Regions from separate parts of the Homo sapiens genome. Here region 2 is linked to region 1. Evidence: promoter capture Hi-C in human tissues and cell types (Jung and others, 2019). All regions are on one chromosome and are shown on one strand. Each heading gives the region's core, a stretch centred on a gene start or on the middle of the fragment in contact. The rest is flanking DNA. Distances are from core to core; before and after follow the strand shown.

The links. Contacts are between HindIII fragments. The study calls those that stand out against the background at their distance.
Region 2: a fragment that was not itself captured here is called in contact with the fragment with the promoter of TSKU in region 1 in 1 of the 25 tissues and cell types used here (neural progenitor cells).

Annotation. Positions count from the first base shown.
Region 1 is chr11:76,779,298-76,784,815 of GRCh38, reverse strand. It overlaps TSKU (tsukushi, small leucine rich proteoglycan), which reads right to left and starts at 1,460. Exons shown (of 2, transcript NM_015516.4): 1 at 1,412-1,460. TSKU-AS1 (TSKU antisense RNA 1) reads left to right here and starts at 1,754. Exons shown (of 2, transcript NR_120562.1): 1 at 1,754-1,813; 2 at 1,960-2,235. RefSeq lists a silencer at 1,514-1,603 and enhancers at 1,155-1,799, 2,034-2,223. The HindIII fragment of the contact is 14,629 bases long and covers 1-5,518 here.
Region 2 is chr11:76,558,916-76,564,810 of GRCh38, reverse strand. No RefSeq gene overlaps it. Among named protein-coding and RNA genes, the nearest start is that of LINC02757, 69 kb to the left of the region's middle. The HindIII fragment of the contact is 4,663 bases long and covers 683-5,345 here.

The sequences.
Region 1 (5,518 bases), core at 211-2,710:
CGGTTATCTTTGCGACTTAGGCTCAAAAGCCCAGCAGGCTCCTGCAGCTCTGAGCACCCCCCCCCCCCCACCTCCGGTCAGCCCCAGGCACTGCAAGTCTAGACTTATCCGAAGGGCAGGGCGCACAAAGATGAAAGAAGAATCGAAGGTCTTGAGTCACCTCCTCGCCAGGCCAAGTGTGGGCTGGCGCTGCTCTCCGCCCGGCTCCAGAGGCGCGGGTTATTCCCACCGCACGCCCCGAGCCGCGAGGGAGTTCTCGCCCTGTCCGTGCCAGAGTGACCGCGACTCCGCGAAGCTGAGCAACTTGCCAGCGCCGCACAGGGGCCAGTGGCCGTCCCAGTTGAAACCTGTGTATGTGAGGCTCCCACGGCCCCCAGCCCAGCTCCGGGTCCTGTGAGCCGGCGCCTCGGGCATGCCCAGATCTGGACTGGCAGTCCCCCTCTCCCCTACCGGGTCCGAGGGTTGGCCCCCTACCCCGGGGGCGGGCTGCAAACGGAGAGTGGGTCTCAAAGCGGAGCCTGTCTCCCTACCAAACAGACGCAACTCTGGATCACACTCTTTCCAAGAAGCGCGGGGAGGGCAACGCCAGCCGCCCTGTCCCTTCCTCTCCCCAGCCCAGGGCCGGAGCCTGGGACCCACCGCTCGCCTCTTCCTCCCAGCCGGGGTCTGAGGGGGAGTCCGCACGCTCCGCCCAGCCCCTGCCCAGCCAGTCCCCAGGCGCTGCCGATCCCCCGACCACCAATCCCGTCGCAGCCCCTTGCTGTCCTGGGACCTCAGGAGGGGGAGGGGGAGGGCTGTCTGCGCCCCCGGCCGGGTAGCGGTGGGGAGGACTGGGGCTGTTGCCCGAGGAACCGGGAGAAAAGTTTGGAGCCAAGTCGTGGGCCCGAGGGGACGGCGGGGGAGCGGGGGGGTGGGGCGGCGTTGGGCTCTCGGTGCGCACACCCTCTGCGGACACCCAGCCCAGACACGTCGGCAGGCACCGACCACGTACGCGGAGACACGCGATGCGCCCACCGACGCCCACAGCCAAGCGCAGGCCCGCAAACGTGGACACGGGCGCAAAGCAGCCGCGCAAAGCCACGGACACACAAAGGCACCGACAGCGGCGCGTCCCCGACCGCAAATCCACAAAGACCCACAAACGTGAGATGCACGTGTCCGCACAAAGACCCACACGGCCCCTGGGCGTAGCCTTTGTCTCCCGCAAGACCTCTCCCCTGGGTCGGCGTTCCCCACTCCCGCCCAGCCCTAGGCGTCCGACGAAAGTTGAGGGGCCTCGGCGGGACCCAGCCCCGCCCCTGCGCCCGGCGTCCCCAGCCCGCCCTCCGAAGGGGCCGCGAGGCTAGGATCGGGGACTTGGGATCTTCAACCGCAGCGCGGACTCTCGCCCCGCCCGGGGAACTGCACTCACCTGGAAGCCTGCGCCACAGCCGCCTCGGCACGCTCACCCCGGCGGCCCGGCCGCGGGCCCTCCGGCCAGCGCTTTTCTCCGCGCGGCGCGGCCCGCCCCCCGGTCCCCGCCCGCAGCCAGGCTCCCCCCTGCCGGGCGCCGGGTGGCGGCTCGGGCCGGCCGCGGGGCGGCTCAGGGAGTGTCGCCAAAGTGCCAGCCTCTCTCGGCGCGCGCCCCGCCCGCGGAGCCTGAGCCGAGCCCGGGTTCCACTCTAGGGAGCGTCTCAAAAGTGCGCTGCTCCCGCCCCCTCTAGTTGGCCTCGCTCACAGCTTCCTGCATCCCGGATCCCTGCCCCCTCCCCCTGCGCGCCCCAGCAATCTAAGCAGATGGCCGCACTGTCGGGAACATCTGGAGGTCGCCGGAGTACGTGCCTGTGTATGTGTATGTGTGTGTATGACTGTGTGTGTGGAAAGAGAGAGGGAATTAGTTGCTAGTAAGAAAGAGATTTGGTGGGTGGGTGAGGGCTTCCTCTTTGCTTGTTCACCGCCCCTCCCCATTTTTTTTTAAAGAGTGAAAGAGGTTCAGGGACTACCGGGAGCAAGAAACCAAGAATCTGAAGCAGAGAAAGACTGGCTGAAAGACGAACCCACAGAGAAGAGAGAGCCCGGCTCGGGCAGAAAAGCTGGCAGGAGAGGAGAGAGAAAGTCAACAGATTGAGTTTTTCTTTTAGGAGGAAACCATTGGCTTCTGGTTAGAGTTCTAAGAAGGGAAACTGGCGTGTGAGTAGGCAGCAGTTTCAGTCTATTCCCCCTGCTGTAGCTCTTGGGCTCTCACCCCTCTTTATGTTAAAAAAAAAAAAAAAGGGCAGGAAAGCATCCAAGACACTTTAAAATGAGGGTTTGCAGGAGAAATGACCTGGTGGACGCATTTCCTAGGAGGGGAGAGTCAGGTGTGTGGGTGGCTCCCAGTCTACACACCCCGACAATGCCTACCTTGGGAGAGGGGCAGTTCACAGGTGGGAGAGTTGATAGAGGCTTTGGTCTTGGGCCCTGGACCTCCCAGGAGCTTCTCCTAGACTTTGGAGGGCCTCGGGGTGCAGAAATTGGGCAATGTACCTCCTGCAGTGGCCCAGACTTGTTAACACACCCAGTCTGCTTGCTGCTTCTTTCCTTATTACTTTTTCTTATTCATTAAAAAAAAAAAAAAAAAAAGGAGTTGCTTGGGCCTGTGTGTGCATGCATGCCGGTCTACTTGGGGAAGAAGGAAGACACTAGAGAGGTGGTGAGGTAGGAGTGGAGACCACTGCCCCAGGCCTCAGGCCAGCAAAATCATCTGCTGCCCAGAAAACAAACTGGTCTTGCAGGTCCTTTCTGCACTCAGAGCCATTGTGTGGTCTTGGGGATGCACTTGGGTTGACACCTGTGGACCCTGCCAGTTAGGAATGTGCAGAGAAAAGGCTAGGAGCCTGGTCTCATATGTGTGGAAGCAGGGAGAACTCCCGTCTCTCCTCTCCATTCATTGTCCTCTCCTGATTAGAATCCCAGCTTTCAGAACTAGGAGTCCTTCTGTGATCATCCAGCTCACACTCCTTATCAGTCTTTGGGATGGCACCATGGGCCCTTTGGTATCCAGTGTCTTCCTCACTGTTGGGCTTAAAAGGGCTGCAGGGATTCAACTCCACAACCCCTGGGACCCATAGAGAGGAGTCGGGCCCCTCCCATTTCCCACCCTCCCATTCCCTCCCCTCTCTAAAGGCTCCTGGCCTAGATGGGAGAGAGACCTGCAATCAGCATCGGGTGAGGGCCAAGCTTGGTCAGGATTCAGGTTCCAGCCCTGCCACTTACCAGCTCTGGGTAACTTTAGGCAAGTTACCTAACCTCTCTGAGACTCAGTGTCTGCAACTGTAGAAGAGGCTATTGTGAGGAATAAACAAGGTAATTTAGGTAAAGCATTAGTCTGGCTCACAGGAAGCTCCTTTGTGTGGTTGCTAAATGTCTTCCGTCAGGGACTGGGGTAGAGACTGGAAAGCCCAGCAGGCTTGGGAGGGGAGGGTGCCCGGGAATGACCTCTGGACTCCCTGGCTTGTCTAGCTTATATTCCTCCTGCTTCCTCCCCTCCCATAGGGACATTCTTTTGAAGGAATGGCGCCCCCCTCCCCTTGCCCTAGACTAACGATTTCCATCCTCTCCTCCATGTGGAATTGTTTAGCGAGTCTCAAGTTCAGCATCTGAGAACTGGAGATGAAAATACCCAACTGCCCGGGAACTCAGGGAAGCTAACTCCCACTGCACTGTGTGTGCAGGTTCTAGCCAGCTGGGCTGGAGGCTCCAGGCCTCACATTTAACATAAAAGTAATCAACAACCCTTCACACTGGCTGGTAGCTGGCAGCAGTTTCTGAGCACTTTCACATTCATCATTTCCCTTGACCTCCCCTTAGGGAGAGGTGGCCTTGAGGGGCTTCAGCTGGTGGATCTCCATGAACTTTACCCACCTCCCCTCATCACTGTGCCTCCAGTTGAGAGTCTCTGTGCCTCTAGACTCTCCTCTTCTGTCTGCTGTCCACATTCCAGCAAGAGTGCCCTTTCTAAACTGCAGATCTGCAGAATGGATCATGACACTTGCCTGCTTAAAACCTTTCAATGGCAAAAGCCAAACTGCTTGGTGTGGCATTCAAGGCCTATGTGATATGCCCCCACCTCACCTTAACTCTCCAGCATCAGTTCTGGCCACCCCCTCTTACACATCCCAAGTTTTAGTCCCCTAGTCACCTAGAAGTAAGGGAAGGGAGGTGGACCTTCTCCATTCTTCATGTCTGTTCAGTGTCTTCGCCCCCAGGGAGTCCTCTCTCTGGCGAAGTTGGCCTCTCCATCTGTGATATTGCCATGTCCTTTGTATATAAGCACCATCATTTTCACCGTTCTCTTCCCCTTCTTGTGATCATCTTGGCCACTGTGACATGTCAGGGACTGTGCTGGATACTTTTAAGATCATGATTTAATCCAAACAACCACACTAGATGGATAGTGGTGCGGCCCAGAAAGGGCAAGAGATCTGTCTGGGGTTACATAGCATGTTCTCTGCGGAGCTGGCACAACATTTAGGGCTCCAGTGCTCTTTCTGTTGCCTTTTAATCTCCACAAAGAGCAGAGGTGGTGTAGCAGAAAGGCCTGGGAATCTAAGGATCCCAGGTGCAAACCATCACTCCTCTATCCCTGGCTAACTGTGGACTTTGGGTAAGTCATTTTCTCCCCTAAGCCTCAGTTTCCTTACCTGTAAAATAGGGATAAATAAGAAGCCCTATCTCCCAGGGATATCGGGGTGATCAAATGAATCAATACAGATGCAAATGTGTTATAAGCCATAGGGTGCTGTGTGCTTTTATTTATTTGCTTAGAGATGAGGTCTTACTCTGTCACCCAGGCTGGAGCGCAGTGGTGCAATCATAGCTCACTGCCACCTTGAGTTCCTGGGCTCAAGGGATCCTCCTGCCTCAGCCTCCTGAGTAGCTGGGACTACAGGCACACCACCATGTGCCTCGCTAATTTTTAAATTATTTGTAGAGACGAGGGTCTTATCATCTTGCCCAGGCTGATCTCGAACTCTTGGGCTCAAGCAGTCCTCCTGCCTTGGCCTCCCAAAGTGCTGGGATTACAGGTGTGAGCCACCATGTCTGGTCGTGGTGTGATTTTAATTGACTTACCTGAACAGCCATACTGAAGCTGCGGGTGATCTGTTGGAAGATCTCTTTTCTCGAAGAGCCCTTGAGTGGAGGTCAGAAGACACTATTCGTCCCTTCAGCCGCTTTGCTCATTTTCCATGTTTTGAGACAGGTCTTTCATTTTCTGTCCTTCATTATAGCGATCAAGCCCTGACCAGAAAACCCTTCAGATCCAATGTATCTCCATGAGCCTCCAGGATCTCTATTTTTCTTGCTGCATTTTCTTCTTTTCAGCTATCAGAAGCTGGCAGGTCTTAAGTTAATAAAGCATCAGGACCATGTGTGGAAATAGCAGAAAAGAAGAGCTGGAAGAAAAAGGATGTGTCTCCACCCCTGCCCCCCACCCTGACTCTGTAGATGTGGCATGTGGCAGGTTATGTTTTCTAAAAGTTCCTCTGGTTATTCTGAT
Region 2 (5,895 bases), core at 1,765-4,264, 220 kb after region 1:
TTTCTTTCTTTTTCTTGCCTGATTGCCCTGGCATGTGCTCACGTTGTGTCTCTGTGTCACATTTTGATAACTCTCCCAATGTTTCAAACTTTTTCATTATTATTATATGTGTTATGTTAATCTGTGACCAGTGATCTTTGATACTACCACTATAATTGTTTTAGACTGCCACAGAGCACACCCATATGACAGCTAACTTAATCAGTAAATGTATGTGTTCTGACTGCTCCACCAACTGGCCGTTTCCCCATCTCTCTCCTTCTCCTCCAGCATTCCTGTTCCCAGAGACACAACAATATTGAAATTAGGCCAATTAATAACCCTTCAGTGGCCTCTAAGTGTTCAAGTGAAAGGAAGAGTTGCACATCTTTCAATTTAAGTCGAAAGCTCGAAATTATTAAGCTTAGTGAGGAAGGCATGCTGAAAGCTGATACAGGCTGAAAGCTAGGCCTCTTGCACCAGTTAGCCAAGTAGTGACTGCAAAGGAAAAGTTCTGGAGGGAAATTAAACGTGCTACTCCAGTGAACACACAAATAATAAGAAAGCAAAACAACCTTATTGCTAATGCGGAGAAAGTTTCAGCAGTCTGGATAAAAGATCAAACCAGCCACAACTTTCCTTCATCCAAAACCTAATCCAGATCAAGGCCTAACTCTCTTCAATTCTATGAAGGTTGAGAGAGGTAAGGAAGCTACAGAATAAAAGTCTGAAGTTAGCAGAGGCTGGTTCATGAGGTTTAAGGAAAGAAGCAATCTATGGGACATAAAAGTGCAAGGTGAAGGAGCAAGTGCTGTTGGAGAAGCTGCAGCAAGTTATCCAGTAGATCTGGCTAAGATCGTTGTTGAAGGTGGCTACACTAAACACCAGATTTTCAGTGTAGACAAAACAGCCTTCTGTTGGAAGAAGATGTAATTTAGGACTTTCATAGCTAGGAAAGAGAAGTCAATACGTGGCTTCAAAGCTTCAAAGGACAGGCTGACTCTCTTGTTAGGGACTAATGCAGTTGCTGATTTTAAGTTGAAGCCAATGCCCATTTGCAATTCTGAAAACCCTAATGCTCTTAAGAATGATGCTAAATCTACTCTGCCTGTGCTCTATCAATGGAACAACAAAGTCTGGATGACAGCACATCTGTTTTCATCATGGCTCACTGAATGTTTTAAGCCACTATTGAGACCTACTGCTAAGAAAAAAAAATATTCCTTTCAAAATATTACTGTTCATTGACAATGCACCTAGTCACCCAAGAGCTCTGATGAACATGTACAAGATTGTTTTCATGCCTGCCAACGCAACATCCATTCTACAGTCCATAAAGCAAGGAGTAATTTCAACTTTCAAGTCTTATTATTTACAAAATACATTTTGTAAGGGTATAATAGCTACCACAGATAGTGAGTCCTCTGATGGATCTGGGCAAAGTCAATTAAGAACCTTCCTGAAAGGAACATTATTCTAGATGCCATTTAGAACATTTGTGATCCATGTGAGGAGGTCAAAATATCAACATTAACACGAGTTTGGAAGAAGTGGGTTCCAGTCTTCATGGATGACTTTGAGGAGTTCAAGACTTCAGTGGAAGAAGTCCACTTCAGTAAATGAAGTCTAGAGATTTCATCTCTAGAAATTTGATCTGAGTCTTTTTTTTTATATCTTCCATGTCTCCACTTAACTTTTGAACATATATAATGCAGCTATAATAAATGTGCTAATGTTCTTGCCTGCCAGTTTTTACATCTGTGTCAATCCTGGGCCAGTTTTAATTGATTTGCAAGCCTGTTAATTTTTTATTTGATGATAGTAATTATGAATATTACCTTGCTGAGTGTTGGACATTTTTGTATTACTATAAATATTCTTGCACTTTGTTCTGAGATGCAGTTAAGTCACTTGGAAACAGTTTGATCATTTTGGTATTTCTTTTAAGATTTGTTAGGAAGGACTAGAGCAGCAGTTAGTCTAGGGCTTACTATTCCCCACTACTGAGGCAAAACCCTTCAGAGTACGTACTCAATGTCTTGTGAAGCATGAGGTTTTCCAGACTGACTGGTCGGAAGAGGCACTATTCTGGCCCTGTGTGAGCACTAGCTATGATTTCCTCTAGTTCCGGTGGTGCTTCCCTTAGCCTTGTATATTTCTTCACAAGCATGCATGGATCACTGCAAATCTCAGGAGTTCTCTGTGAAGTTCTCTCCTTTACTACTTTGCCCTGGACATTCTAACTACCTTGGTCTCTCTGGACTCTTAGTCCAGTTTTCTCAATTCAGAGAGCCCAGCAGGCTCTACTTGGGTTCTCTTCCCTACGCTCTTCCCTATGATGCCCTCTTGTGCTAGGGCAATCATAGACTTCTTCACCCTGCTTCTTTCCCATCTTCTGGCTGCTGTTGCTTGAGGCCCAGTGTCTTGAAAACCACAGTGTCATATAGTGGTGGTGGTGTTGTTATTGTTATGGCTGTTTCAGGCACATGAGAAAAATCCAGTCACTATTGCTCCATATTGCCCAGAAACAGAAGACTATGGCCTGAGGGGTCATCTTGAAGCCTGTTTCTAGGTTGGTGTATTCTAGAAGAGAGGGAGACGGAGGAGGAGGAGAAAAGTGAGACAAGAGGGAAGCGAGAGGGAGAAGGAAAGATGATGCCACAGAGAAGGGAAATAATATCAAGAGGGAAATCTTGAGAGGGCTGTAAGGATGCGATCTAGGCCCCTCATGGAGGGTCTGAATTCACCAGGAACTGGAATACTTCTCCACTGTGATGAGAGGAAAGTCAGGTATATGGGTTCAGATGTAACTTAGTAGAAAGAGTGGTTGGGAGAAGTGCCTTAATTTGGCCTCCTCCAGCAGACCCTGAGACAAGGAGTTGAGTGCAAGTCATTCCTTTAGGAAGGGATCCCAGGAACTACTATTATGGGAGTGGGGAAGTGAGACATTATCAAGCATGTCACCACGGTGAGTAACTGAGGCTTAATGTGGGGGAAAATGCCACGGAGTTATCCTAAATTAGGAGAGCTCGATTATTTTACATCAGCTTCCATTAGCCCTTGGTTGACTGAGGGGCATTAATTTCCCAGCACTTCAGCGCCTTGTACAGGGCAAAGTAGCCCCAGTGGTCAGAGAAAGGCATCAGGCAGAGAAGCAGATGCTGGCAGATCAAGTCCAGCCAGCCTGCCCCCAAATGAGAAGGGGTGAAGGTGGGGCAGCTACAGCATCTCAGCACGTGCTGCAGGGACCGCTGCTGCTTGTGACACAATATTTCACCCATACAATATGATGCCAGGGCTTCATGGGTACAGGGAGATGGAGCAGAGAGGAAACGTTGGTCTCTGCCAGGGTGTCCCAAGTGAGACTACATGGGCCTCACGTGCTACAGCTGTTGCTAATCAGCCTTTCCTGTTAACACAGGCACGCACATGTGTGCACACACACAATTATTTTCCCCACAGCACTCCCACGGCCTTGAGAGTCCACAAGGCTGTATACGGCACAGAGCACAGATATAAGGGGAGACAGCAGAAAGGGATGAGAAGCGCACTAGACACAGAGCCATGAGCTCTGCCTCCACCTCCTGGGAACCCTGTGATGTCAGGAATTGGTGTCCCAGTCGGTAAAAGGGTGCTAACTTACCTCCTAGGATTATTGTGAGAATGAAGAGAAATAGGTGACCATTTTATAAACTTTAGAGGAATTATTATCACCAGAGACCACCTGGTACATGTAAGAAGCCCCAGAGAAAGATAAGCTTCCCAGTAAAATCCACTCAAGATCACAAGAAAACCTCTGGGAGGTCAACTTGATACAGAAAGATTTGATATGGAAAGGGTGGTCTGTGGTCTGGTCGCACCAGCATTGCCCAGGTTCTTGTTAAAAATGCAGAACTCCGATCCCAGCCCACAGAGGAATCTGAGTCTACTGGATCGGAACCTGTATTTTAACAAGATCCCTAGGGGACTCTGGTGCACTTGAAGCCTGGGACTCACTGGCCCTGTGCTTGGGGTCTGGGCCTGCCTCTTTCCCTGACTTACCCCTCTGATTTCTGGGGGCAGCTCAGCTCCCTCCACCGTACAGTTAGGGCTGTGGTCCGGATCTGCTCCAGGGAGAGGCCAGCAAAGCTCTGTATTCTCATTGCTGAGCTGAAAAATTATTATAACTATGCTCATCATAATGATTCTGAAGAAACGAGATGGTAGAATCATACTGAGGAAAGTATGATAATACATTTCTGAAATTTACCATCAAAAATAGTTAAAATTAACAACAATAACAACAACAATAATGTCCTGTTGCTTGATTTATTTGAACGGCAGCAATCCGGAAAAGTCGTCAGTGCACAATGACTCATTCCCTGAGGGTTCTGAATAAGATTCTAAAATCACCACCCATGGTTTTCCTGCACTTTGAAGTGACAGAACAAATGACAGCAGAGATGGGCACTGTCTCCTGAGTCCAGAATGGATGACACACACGCGTCTCACAACAATAACATCCTCATCTAAAAACAGCCTGAAAGGAGGTTATTTCTGGGCTTTGCTTGTTAGTAAGCATTTGTGCACCTGTGGGCAGAGACCTAAGACCAAGATGGTTTGGGTTTTTTTTCTATATAGTCAATCAACAAACTTATTGATGCCTTTTCCATGCCAGGGCCTGTTCTAAGGACATGAGATTAATTCAACCCTCAGAGGAAAACCCTCACAGAGCAAAAATTGGGATAACAAATGAGAAAAGCCATAAATGAGAGACAGATGAGGAGGCTAAGGGAGAAAGACTCTGGGGAAGTGTCCCAAGAGGTGACCACGGAGATGATGGGTGAGAGGGAAGTGCACTGCATGACGAGGGAAGAGCCGGCACAAGGCCCGGAGGTGGAAGCAGCTTGCAGGGTTCTTCTGGCAGAACAACAATCTAATGCTATGGAAGAAAAATTCAAGACAAGTAGCCTTTTGGATTACATAACAACCTATGGGAAACTCCACAACCCCTGACAATGCTTTGTTGGCATCTGGGAGTGTAACAGCCTCTAGATGACTGCTCTGAGCTCACCGCCCCCAGTCACCTCCCAACCCAAGCTCAGTGTCCCTCCCCACCATTGATGCTTTGCCTGTCTCATTCTTCCCCACCTTTCTCCACATGATAAATTACCCATCTTCCAGCCTCAGCTCTGGAATTGCCTTTTTCTTGATGCTTCCACCTTACTGAAAAAACTGACCCTTCCTCTTCTCAGCATGAATGGGCTGCCAAGGATAGGGAGTAACAAGCAGAGAGAGTAAGTTGAAAGGAAAGGGGTTGATCTTTGTTTGGGACAACTTGAGGCTGACGTACTTTTAGAAAAATTCAGTCAGGGATGTCCCAAGGAAGTAAGTTTTGGCTCAAAGAAGAGAGCAATTGCAGATGTGTATTTGAGAGCCATCATAAAATTGAAGCAAATGCATTTACCTACCTACCTGCTTCTTCCTCTTCTAACAGATGAACCCAGCACCTCTACTAGATTCTGTCCCCTCCCATTATTCAAGGACAGTGCAACAGCAATTCTCTCCTCTCCTGCATCACAAACTTTCTCCTCTCCATTGGATCAATCCCATCAGGAATCCCAATTTCTTACATTAAACAAACAATTCTTGATCCCACTTCCCTTTCCAGCAACTGCCCCATTTCTCTGCTCCTCTTTACAGTGACTCATGAAATTATTTGTACTCTTGGTCTCCAATTCTCTCCTCCCATTCTCCTCCAACTCCACCAAAACTGCTTTTCCCAAGATTGCCAATGACTTCCACATGGCAAATTCCATGAGTCCTCATGTTACTTGACTTAGCAGCAAAAACACTGTCTTTACCTATTTCTGAGACACCACAATCTCCAACTTTACCTCCCATCCTCTGGCTACTTCTGCTCGGTCTTTTCTGGTT